Regions from separate parts of the Homo sapiens genome. Here regions 2 and 3 are each linked to region 1. The links are contacts of gene promoters, found by promoter capture Hi-C in blood cells and fetal thymus (Javierre and others, 2016). All regions are on one chromosome and are shown on one strand. Each heading gives the region's core, a stretch centred on a gene start or on the middle of the fragment in contact. The rest is flanking DNA. Distances are from core to core; before and after follow the strand shown.

Region 1 (3,799 bases), core at 849-3,348:
TGACTTTTTGAGGAACAAATTGTCCACGATGAACAAGGTAAACAAAGGAGAGAGTTGGCAGGTGTAATTTGATTTCTGGAAAGCTTTTGATTCTCCCCAACTTCATTTTCCTCAGCAAGCAAGGAAATTGTGGCCTTAACTATACTCATATTAGTTATGGGAGCAGCTAACTTCTTGGCTTGCAGATTTGGTGTCAACCTCAAGGGACAGATTATACAGAACCCCAAAGGGAACTGTGTTGGATACCATTCTATTTCAAGATCTTAATGGAGTCAGAAATAAGACTGAAAAAGACATTTTTTTTTTAAAAAAAAGAAGACATGGATAGGTTGTAAAAATAAGTGAAAGTGGGAATAAGCACAAAACACAACTCTTAGGGGCTGAAACCAATCATTAATATATTAATAAATCGACAGCAATATCATGAAAAACATTACTTTTTGGAGGATAGTCAAGAGTGAATTACTGGATGGATCAGTCATTTATTCAACAATTAATATGTTGCCAGGCATAGGAGTCACATAGAAATTAAGATAATGTTTTTTCCCTTAAAAAGTTTCCAATAAACCAGCCTCAGCAACATATTGAGACCTCTTTCTCTACAAAGAACTTTTAAAAATCAGCCAGGCATGGTGGCATGCACTTGTGGTCCCAGCTACTCAGGAGGCTGAAGTGGGAGGATCACTTCAGCCCAGGAGTTCCAGGCTGCAGTGAGCTATGATGGCGCCACTGCACCCCAGCCTAGCAACAGAGTGAGCCCCTGTCTCTCCCTTAAAAAAAAAAAAAATGCAGCCAGCATGACCACCCACTACAAAGAATATTGCATTTCAAGGGAGGAAGGACCAGACTGTGGTGAAGAAGTTTTACTCTTTCACATCTTTTGTCCCACTACAAATCACCTATTTACTACTGGAACACACACACACACACACACACACACACACACACACACACACTTTTGGGGGAAATATTTTTGTATTTACAGACATTATTATTGGTCATTTATAAAGTATTGAGTTTTTAAGGATCTAAAAACCATCTCTCTGGTTTAAAACTTTAACAAACAACAATAATGTAATTAGAAAGTAAAAATTGTAATAAGAGTTTTCAGTATTGGCCAGGTGCTGTGGCTCATGACTGTAATCCCAGCACTTTGGGAAGACGAGACGGGCGGATCACCTGGGGTCAGGAGTTCGAGATCAGCCTGGCCAACATGGTGAAACCCTGTCTCTACTAAGAATACAAAATTAGCCGGGTGTGGTGGCACACGCCTGTAATCCCAACTACTTGGGAGGCTGAGGCAGGAGAATCGCCTGAACCCGGGAGGTGGAGACTGCAGTGAAAGGAGATAGCGCCATTGCATTCCAGCCTGGGCAACAAGAGCGAAATTCCGTCTAAAAAAAAAAAAGAGTTTTGAGTATAATTTTTATTTCTACATTCATTACAAAACACAGCTGCAGGGCCCACTTGCTGGAGACAGCGCCACTGAGGAGGGGAGACGTCTTAGCCACGGTTATAGAAACCCTGTTTCCCAGCCCGTCCCTTTCCCCATGCACAGGTGACCTCAAAGGCCCCACAGCGCTGAGGGGCTGTGACTAAGTGCCACTGTGAGAAGCTCCAGTGCGTTCACCGGGTTTATTAATAGGAACATGACTGCACGCGTGGGGCCGAACCCCGTTCTTCTTCTCGGTGCTCGCGCCCTAACCGGGGTGCGGCGGTCAGAGGGTCACAGATCAGCTGAAACCCTGGGACCACCATCGAGAAGCAAGAAAACTGATTAAGAGAATGACTTATCCCGCCGACGGTATAGAGACCACAGCTACCTCTCCCACAGCCCAGCAAGACCCGGGGGCTCCCAAAGGCCAGCGCGGGAACCCCGCTGAGAAAACGTCTGGGTGGCGGGCAAGCCCCCTCCACGCCCCTCAGCAGCGCGCCGCTGCCGCCGCGGTCTCCCTCCTTGAATCACTCACCGCCCCAGGGCCCAGCCGGGGATGGAGCAGGAAGTGAGTCCTCCACCGCCGAGCCGCACCCGGCCCGCAACCCCGAGGCTGTGCCTCCCAGAACCCGACCGGGATTCGTGACAGGGCTGTGGGGACACAGGTGGGACTCCGGCTTCGACAGCCAGCGGCCGGAAAGTACCGCCCCCATCCTCTTGCTATTGGCTTTTCAGTTTCCATGGCTAGAATTTTTCTCTGTCCATAGGCTGATAGAGCTGTCAATTATCGCCTAGCCTTCTGGGAAACGTAGTCCCGAGCAAGACCTCAAAGGACTCGGAGCCGTGGATGTCCAGTTCCAAGCGTTGGAAAGTGCTAAACCCAATTCCCCAGCTACCGGTCCCCCGGAACCGCCTGTTTGGAGCCGAGGGATCTAAATGCTGTATCCTCACTGTGGCATCTGCAGATGTGAATCTCCTGGCCTCACCCACCTACCGCGGAGCAGCCTGGTGCCCACCATGAGGTCTCCCGCGCTCTGGCACTTCGCCCCTCCCCAGCGCAGAGCAGCTCAGCCCTCGGGCCTTTGCGGCCTCTCTTCTGCCCAGTCTTCCACCTCATCCCCGGCGGCCGGAGCCTGCAGGGTGTTTGCGGAGGCCAGGTCCCAGACCAACTCAAACTGGACATTGGAAAGGCCCAGCAGAAGCCCTTAGTAGAAAACAGACATTCCGCATCCTTCCCTTGGCATCAAACTCCCAGGCACATCCCCTTTCCGTCTGGTTGATAGCCAGAGGAGGCGGGCGAGGGCATCAAGTATTCTGGGAAATGTGATATCGGGCTTCAAACTGGGGAGGCTCCTGGGTCTCATGTGAGAGCCAGTGATCACTTTGGGTCGGCCCCTAGCTAAAAAACAACAAAGTCTTTCCTTAAAGTGAAGAAAATGTGCCTGTCTACTCCGTTTGTTGATTCAGTGCAATTTAGAAAAATAAAAGAACATTTTGTGATGTATTATAAAACGCTTAGAATTACCAGCCATAGAGTTTTTTTTTTTTTTTTTTTTTAGACGGAGTCTCGCTCTGTCGCCCAGGCTAGAGTGCAGTGGCACGATCTCGGCTCACTGCGAGTTCTGCCTCCCAGGTTCACACCATTCTCCTGCCTTAGCCTCCCGAGTAGCTGGGACTACAGGCGCCCGCCACCACACCCGGCTAATTTTTTGTATTTTTAGTAGAGACGGGGTTTCACCATGTTAGCCAGGATGATCTCCATCTCCTGACCTCGTGATCCGCCCGCCTCGGCTTCCTAAAGTGCTGGGATTACAGGCGTGAGCCACCGTGCCCGGCCCGAGTTAATGTTGAAGATCCCTTTGATGCTAATTCCACCATTCCTTCAACAAAAATAAGGTGCATTTTCCAGTGGATATTTATTGGGAACATTCTGTTCTCAAGATCGTTCTGGGGGCAGGGCGTGGTGGCTCACGCCTGTAATCCCAGCACTTTGGGAGGCCGAGGCGGGAGGATCACGAGGTCAGGAGATCGAGACCATCCTGGCTAACATGGTGAAACCCCGTCTCTACTAAATATAGAAAAAATTAGCCGGGCGTGGTGGCGGGCGCCTGTAGTCCCAGCTACTCGGGAGGCTGAGGCAGGAGAATGATGTGAACCCGGGAGGTGGAGCTTGCAGTGAGCCGAGATCGCGCCACTGGACTCCATCCTGAGCGACAGAGCAAGACTCCGTCTCAAAAAAGAAAAAAAGAAAGAAAAAAAAAAAAGATCGTTCTGGGAACTGTGATTACTCGGGAATCATACATAACCATTACCTTCATGAAGTTCACAGGCCAAAAGGGGAAATAAACCATAAAAGGTATCAAA
Region 2 (3,799 bases), core at 817-3,316, 640 kb before region 1:
GAGGTTGCATGAGCCGACATCTCGACACTGCACTCCAGCCTAGGCGACAGAGTGAGACTACGTCTCAAAAAAAAAAAAAAAAGTCCATTAACAGTTTATGAATTATGTAGGCATCTCCTCTATCAAGGGATTGAATGAAGCAGGAGAAAACTTACCCTTTAATGTTGGTTCCAGGCTAATGGATATAATTAACTTTTTTTTTTTTTTTTTTTTTTTTTTTTTTGAGACGGGGTCTCACTCTGTCGCCCAGGCTGGAGTGTAGTGGCGAGATTGCTCACTGCAGCTTTGACCTCTGAGGCTCAAACGAAACTCTGGCCAGAATTAATTATGGTTATCGATCCCCGAAACAGGTTGAACTGGAGATCAACAAAGCTCCTTCTCTGGAATGCTAAGAAAAAATAGGGCAGTGGATCAGTGAAGGCTGCCTGAAGGTAGAAAATAATTTAAGGACCACTGTGAGATACCTTCCAGTCCAGTGATTTATGTTCAAGACTGGAAAAACTGACTCATTTTACAACCTTTTTGTCCTTGAGTGGTAGTCTTTGTATGCACTCTTGATTTTTTTCAGTGAATCTAAAAAAAAAACTCAGACTTGCTGCTTTTAGGGGATTATCTGAAACAATTTAGCCAGGGAGTATTTAAGTGTATCATGATAATTGTTCATAATGATTGCTCTGAAGCATCTTAAGATCATACAACTTTTTTGAAATGTCACGTTATTCATTCAAAAAGACTTCTTGGGCCTGGCACAGTGGCTCACACCTGTAATCCCAGCACTTTGGGAGGCCAAGGTGGGAGGATGACTTGAGCCCAGGAGTTCAAGACCAGCCTGGGCAACATAGCAAGACCCTGTCTCTATTTAAAAAATAATAATTTATACTAAAAAAGAAAAGAAAAATACTTCTTGAATGTTTGTTATATACAAGGAACCATTGCAAGTGTTGGGGATATAGCAGTGAGCAAAAGTGACATCCCTGCCCTCACAGAGTTTATATTCTAATAGCAAAAGAGGAGTGTAATAAATAAGTTAGTCTTAAATGGTGGTAAGTGCTATGTAGAGAAATCAAGAGGTTAAGAAGTACTGAAGGTGTAGGAAGGGGGGTTGTGGTTTTAAAGAGATGGGTCAGGAAAGGCCTCCCTGAGAAGGTGATCTCTGAGCAAAGACCTAAGAAGGAAAAGGGTGAAGCCATGCAGCATGGGGGAAAAGAGATCTAGGTAGAGGAATCAGCAAATCCAAGTGCCCTAAGGGGAGATAGCGCCTGGTATGTTCCAGAAAGAGCAAGGAGGTCGCTGTGACAGGAATAGAATGAGCACTGAGGTCAAAAGAAATGGCTTTCAGATGGAATGGGGCTCCATAGGTCTTTGGAAAGTCAGAGGCTTTTCCTTAGAGTGAGATGGCAAGTCGTTGGAGGGTTCTGAGTAGAAGATTAGGACTTGGGGCTCCTGTGTTGACAATGGACTTAAGGAGGCCAGCTTCGAAGCCGGGAGACCAGTTAAGAGGCCCCTGCCATACAGCAAGAAGTTGGTGGTGGTGACCTGGACCAGGGTGGGGGTGGTAGTGGTAGCAGCAGAGGTCAGGAGGAGTGAGATTCTGCCTGTCTTGTGTAGATAATGCTAATGGCGGGCATATAAGAAAGAAGTGTCAAGGATGATACAAGATTTAAGTTTAAAAAAAAAATTAAGTTCAGTACAATTTGAATGTTAGGAAGAGTGAGAAATGTTAGTTTTTAATTTGAAAATGATCCTCTTACAGGAAGTGTCTCTAACTAGAATAATAATAATGGGTGTTTGGTAATTCCAAACACCCATTTCCAACAGGCCAAATAAAATACGTTATATATTAGTAAAATTTTTATTTCTTTTTTTTTTTGGAGACAGTCTTGCTCTGTTGCCCAGGCTGGAGTGCAATGGCATGATCTCAGCTCACTGCAACCTCCGCCTCCTGGGTTCACCGGGTTCAAGTGATTCTCCTGCCTCAGCCTCCTGAGTATCTGGGATTACAGGCACCCACTACCACGCCCAGCTAATTTTTGTATTTCTAGTAGAGATGGGGTTTCACCATGTTGGCCAGGCTGGTCTCGAGCTCCTGATCTCAGGTGATCCGCCCGCCTTGGCCTCCCAAAGTGCTGGGATTGCACACGAGCCACCGCGCCCGGCCATAGTAAAAATCTGTAAGTTTTTCAATTAAGTCACAAATCAAAAACATTTCAGATTATGGGCCGGGCACAGTGGCTCACGCCTGTAATCCCAGCACTTTGGGAGGCCGAGGCGGTCGGATCACGAGGTCAGGAGTTTGAGACCAGCCTGACCAACATGGTGAAACCCCGTCTCTACTAAAAATACAAAAATTAGCCGGGCGTGGTGCCGTGTGCCTGTAGTCCCAGCTACTCAGGAGGCTGAGGCAGGAGAATCGCTTGATCCCAGAAGGCAGAGGTTGCAGTGAGCTGAGATCACACCATTGCACTCCGGCCTGGGTGCCAGACTGAGACTCTGTCTCAAAAAAAGAAAAAAAAAAGAAACCAAAAATGTTTTAGATTATGTGCCAAGATGTTTTTAATAACAGCTTTGAGGTATAATCCACATACCATACAATGTACTTAAATTGTATATTATAATTCAGTGATTTTTAGAATATTCAGAGTTGTGCAATCATCACTGCAATCAATTTTAGAACATTTTTATCACCCCTTTAAAATCCCATTAGCAGTCAATCCCCTTTCACCCCATGGTCCAAATTCTCCCCAGCCGCAACTACAAATCTACTTTTCGGCTAGGCAAGGTGGCGCACACCTATAATTCCAGCACTTTGGGAGCCCAAGGTGGGAGGACTACTTGAGCCCAGGAGTTCAAGAACAGCTTGGGCAACATAGAGAGACTCTACCTCTTAAAAAAAAAAAAAAAATTATTTATTTATTTATTTATTTATTTTATTTTTTATTTTATTTTATTTTATTTTTTGAGATGGAGTCTCACTCTGTCACCCAGGCTGGAGTGCAGTGACGTGATCTCAGGTCACTGCAACCTCCACCTCCCGGATTCAAGCAATTCTCCTGCCTCAGCCTCCCGAGTAGCTGAGATTACAGGTGCCCACCACCACACCCAGCTAATTTTTGTATTTTTAGTAGAGACGGGGTTTCACCATATTGGCCAGGCTGGTCTCAAACTCCTGACCTCGTGATCCGCCGGTCTTGGCACCCAAAGTGCTGGGATTACAGGAGTGATCCACCGCACCCGGCCTAAAAAAAAATTTTATTGTTTAAGTTAGCTGGGTGTGGTGGCTCACATCTGTAGTCCCAGCTACTCCGGAGGCTCAGGTGGGAGGATCACCTGAGCCTAGGAAGTTGGGGCTGCAGTGAGCCATGATCATGTTACTGCACTCCAGCCTAGGTGAAAGAGGGAGACCCTGTCTCAAAAAACCATACAAACCCCAAATCTACTTTTTACCTATTCTGGATATTTCATAAAAACGGAACCGTAGCTCTGGTCTTTTGTGACTTGCTTCTTTGACTTAACATAATGTTTTCAAGGTTTATTGCCAAATAATATTCCATTGTATGCCTATATACTACATTTTATTTACCCATTCATAAGTTGATGGCCATTTGTATTTTTTTTTTCACTTTTTGGCTATTATAAGTAATGCTGCTATAAACAGTTGTGTAGTTTTTGTATAAATGTGTTTTCATTTCTTTTGGGCAAATACCCAGTAATAAAATTGCTGAGTTGTATGAACTCTGTTAAACTGAGGGGCCGGGTGCAGTGGCTCATGTCTGTTATCCCAACACTTTGGGAGGCCGAG
Region 3 (3,799 bases), core at 512-3,011, 520 kb before region 1:
GTATCACTGTCTGCATTTTATAGAGGAGGAAACTGAGGCCCAGAGAGGTTAAATCATGATAATTCTTAAGGCAACTGGTGAAAAATCAATCAGCAAACCGGTTCAAATCCCTGGGGCACTATTTTTTGCTGGGACACCTTAGACAAGTTAATTTCTCAGGGACTTCCTCAATTTACCCCTCTATAAAATGGAGATAATATTTAGTGAATGGGATCAGGTACGATTCGGGCACCTTTACAAACACTGCAAGAACTGGAAACTGGAGGAACAATGCTGGGTCCTCAAAGTTGAGCGGGAAGATAAGTCCAGTTGGCCTTGTCCCAAAGTGGGGACTTCCCCTCCGCCAAGGAACTAAGACTTGTAGGGGCCACACTGGGTAGCGCCAGCCACAGTTGGGAGAACAATACTCCAGCAGTCAGACTGAGGCAGGAAGTGACTCACGCTTCTTCCTTAGGCTGTGAGCAAGAGAACTCCATTGAGGGGAAACAGGGACAGGGCTGGCCCCACCTACCCACTTGTCCTCAGGCCTAGAAGAAAGGTCAGCCCAGAAAAATAGCAATACTTGCTGCTTCAGGTGCCCCACCCATCCTGGAGACTGGCCCCAGGGGAGCCCGCAGTGGGTCTTTGGAGGGGGAGGGGCTAGCCTAGGCTCAGATGACTGCCACCCAGGCAGAGGCGGTGGGAAGTGGAGCTTCCCAGTTTCTTCCAGCCAGCTTGCCTCTTCAATCTGCATAAGGCAAAATTCTTTAAAGTGGGTTCTCAGAGGTGCCTCCCTGAGAGGGAGGAATGAGGACAGGATTGGGCAGTTGAGCACCTCTCTCTGCTTCACCCAGAGTGTCTCACATTTTAGGGTTTCACATGAGATTGTATTTTACAACAATTCTGCTGCTAAAAAGAATTTGAAAGCCACTCTCTGTGAGACTTCTCTGGAAAAAAATCCCATTTGACCACAACTGGTGACTTCTGCCTTTATCTCATTGCAACAAGTCCTGTGGGCAGGTATTGTTCTCTTTATCACTCTCAACTGGCCCTGGAGCCCAGGTCTCCTGACCTGGGGCCCTAGGGGCCCAAGGTCCTCTGGATCCCACCTTACCAGTTTTACACAGCAGTTAGCAGGACTTGGGCATGTGACAGAAGTCTGGAGATGAGTGAGAGGAGCAGGGCCTGATGGGTAAGTGGGGGCTGTAAAGGGGCTCCATTTTCCCAGCAGGGCTCTGGGAGGAAGAGTCCAGCTAGGCCTCTCTTTATCCTTGATTTGGGGCTAATCCAGAGAGGCTCCTGAGAATCACATAGTCCTAAATCCACCCAGTCATCCTGACTCCAAGCACTCCTGTTGTCTCCTTGGGGTGCTCTGGGAGTCTTCTCTGAAATCTCTGGTCCACCTCAGGCACAGCAAATAAAGCCTTCGGCAGCAGCACCCACACCTAGTTGTAAGCAGAATGTCTACACAACATTCAGACGTGCATAGAAGGGTGCACAACAAAATTCCATTGGTGTTCTCTCCGAATGAAAGGGTCACATTTGCGATCTTTGTTTTCTTCTTTTTGCCTACCTGCATTTTTCAGGAATGTCTACAAGAACTCCTAAAATAATTAAACCTTTAAGTCAATGCAAAATCGAATAAAGCATGTCCATACTTCACCATCCAGCTCCAGAGCACCTGGGATTCATCCTGGCCGCTGCTGCTTCCCCGCCACTCACTGCAGCTGCAACAGTCAGGCTCCTATCCCTTCACAGGGCGGGGCCCTTCCAGTTCTGGCTAAACCACTTTGGGAAAACCTTCTTTATATGACAGGCAAACAGGGTGTCTGTGGGTGGGGGGAGGAGCTAAAAGTGATGTGGTGGTGACATATCTGGTCGCACTGGAACTGGATCCTAACATGGCCAGCCAGCCCTTCTCATTTTCCTCATTTATTGGGGTGGGTCTGCACTTACCTTCTGCCTGGCTTTGCTGCATCCCAGCCACTGGCTGACTTAATGACTTCCTTCCGCCAGCTCCAGCTCCTTGTGTTCTGCCTTGCCTTCCATGGCCAGCCAGTGCTGCCACAATTATGTACCTAATAAATGCTTTGGGTGCAGTCTCGCCTGGCAGACATTCATTGAGCAGCTGCTGAACGCTGGGCTCTGGTGCCCCATAGCTGGGTCCCTTAGAGCTTGTCCATAGGAAGCCAGAGACCACCTCTCTAGTAGGGTTGCATGGAGGTACCTGGGACACACCAGGGTCTTCCTCAGTCTGCGACCTCCCTGGCCTTCCAGCTTCAACAAGCCTGCTGCCCATCCTTCTCTCTCTCGATTCAGAAATGTGAATCACTCAATCCTCATAGTTTTTTTTGTTTGTTTGTTTTATGGGTTTGTTTTTTTTTTTTCTAGACAAGAGTCTCGCTCTGTTGCCCAGGCTGGAATGCAATGGCCTGATCACAGCTCACTGCAACCTCTGCCTTCTGGGTTCAGGCGATTCTCATGCTTCAGCCTCCCAAGTAGCTGGGATTACAGGCTTACGCCACTCGTATTTTTTTTTTTTTTTTTTGTATTTTTAGTAGAGATGGGGTTTTGCCATGTTGGCCAGGCTGGTCTCGCACTCCTGACCTTAAGTGATACACCCACCTCGGCCTCCCTAAGTGCTGGGATTATTAGGCGTGAGCCACCACGCCCGGTCCCCTTGTTGAGTTTTCAATCAGTTTGTCATCCTGAACAGGGTTTCTCAACCTTGGCATTATCAACATCTTGGGTCGGATAATTCTCTGTAGGGGACACTGCACTCTACATTGCAGGATGTTCAGTCGCATCCCTAGTCACTAAACATTAGCTGCTAGTAGCATTCCCGCTCCCATGATGACAACCAAAAAGATCTCCAGGTATTGCCAAATGTCCCTTGGGAGACAAAAATCTCTCCCAGCAAAGAACCACTGTCGCAGAATGAGGAGTGGGAACGTCACAGGATGGTGGTTAGTGTGCCAGGGTTCGAGGCAGCAAGAGTTGTCTGCTGGGAACTAAGCTCTGAGACAGCTAGCAGTGAGGGAGAAAACTCCCAAACTTGAAACTGCCCAGTATGCCAGCACAACAATGGGCCGTTTAGTGATCAGGGCAAACAATCATGCATCCTCATGACATCTGAGATCACTTTCCATCGTGTTGGTGATAATGCTGAATCAAGGAAAGGATCAATCATGTTGATCATACTCCATTTTCTAAGGTGGGGAGGTGTGTGAGCCCTTGTAGCATTAAAGACGTATTTGGAAAACAGATCAGTGCTTGCTTGGGGAAGGGGGCAGGGAGGGGCGGGAGGAAACTTTTGGGAATGATGGACATGTTCATTATCTTGATTGTGGTGATGGTTTCATGGGTGTGTCCATATATCAAAACATATCAAGTTGTACACTTTAAATCCATGCCGTTTATAGTGTGTCAGTTATACCTCAGCAAAGCTGTTTTGAAGATGTGTTGTTTAAAGTTTTAGTGCTTGAAGGGCATTATTTTGAAAATTCACTACTGTGGAGTAGTCCATTTCTTTGCTGAATAAATAAGGGGTCACTGTAGTACTTAAAAAGAAAACAGGAAGAAAAAACAAACAGAAGAAGAAGAAGAAAAGCGATCATGGGCTGTAAGGTCGTCCTAGGCAGGGAAGGAAAGGAATGGCGTGAAGAGTTGGCTCAGTCGCCCCTGAGTGTGGCCCGGAGAGCCTGTCCTCTGGCCTACGGCAGGCCCCAGAGAGTCTTTCCGTTGACTGATGCCATCAAATCAACATGTCTGGAACGGTATTATCAGGGACTTGGGAAAAATAGAATGACAAATGTGCTGG

What was found. Contacts are between HindIII fragments. The CHiCAGO score rates a contact against its expected background, and 5 or more counts as called.
Region 2: a contact is called between a fragment that was not itself captured here and the fragment with the promoter of ZNF774 in region 1, in 1 of 17 cell types (naive CD8 T cells). The highest score is 5.8, in naive CD8 T cells.
Region 3: a contact is called between the fragment with the promoter of FURIN here and the fragment with the promoter of ZNF774 in region 1, in 8 of 17 cell types (activated CD4 T cells, erythroblasts, total B cells and 5 more). The highest score is 12.1, in activated CD4 T cells.

What each region holds. Positions count from the first base shown.
Region 1 is chr15:90,350,583-90,354,381 of GRCh38, reverse strand. It overlaps ZNF774 (zinc finger protein 774), which reads right to left and starts at 2,098. Exons shown (of 4, transcript NM_001004309.3): 1 at 1,971-2,098. The HindIII fragment of the contact is 4,226 bases long and covers 86-3,799 here.
Region 2 is chr15:90,989,495-90,993,293 of GRCh38, reverse strand. The region is part of intron 1 of PRC1 (protein regulator of cytokinesis 1); the gene reads left to right. Among named protein-coding and RNA genes, the nearest start is that of PRC1, 3.1 kb to the left of the region's middle. The HindIII fragment of the contact is 7,498 bases long and covers 1-3,799 here.
Region 3 is chr15:90,866,550-90,870,348 of GRCh38, reverse strand. It overlaps FURIN (furin, paired basic amino acid cleaving enzyme), which reads right to left and starts at 1,761. Exons shown (of 16, transcript NM_002569.4): 1 at 1,638-1,761. RefSeq lists enhancers at 296-590, 528-637, 376-670, 738-787, 30-1,229. The HindIII fragment of the contact is 27,514 bases long and covers 1-3,799 here.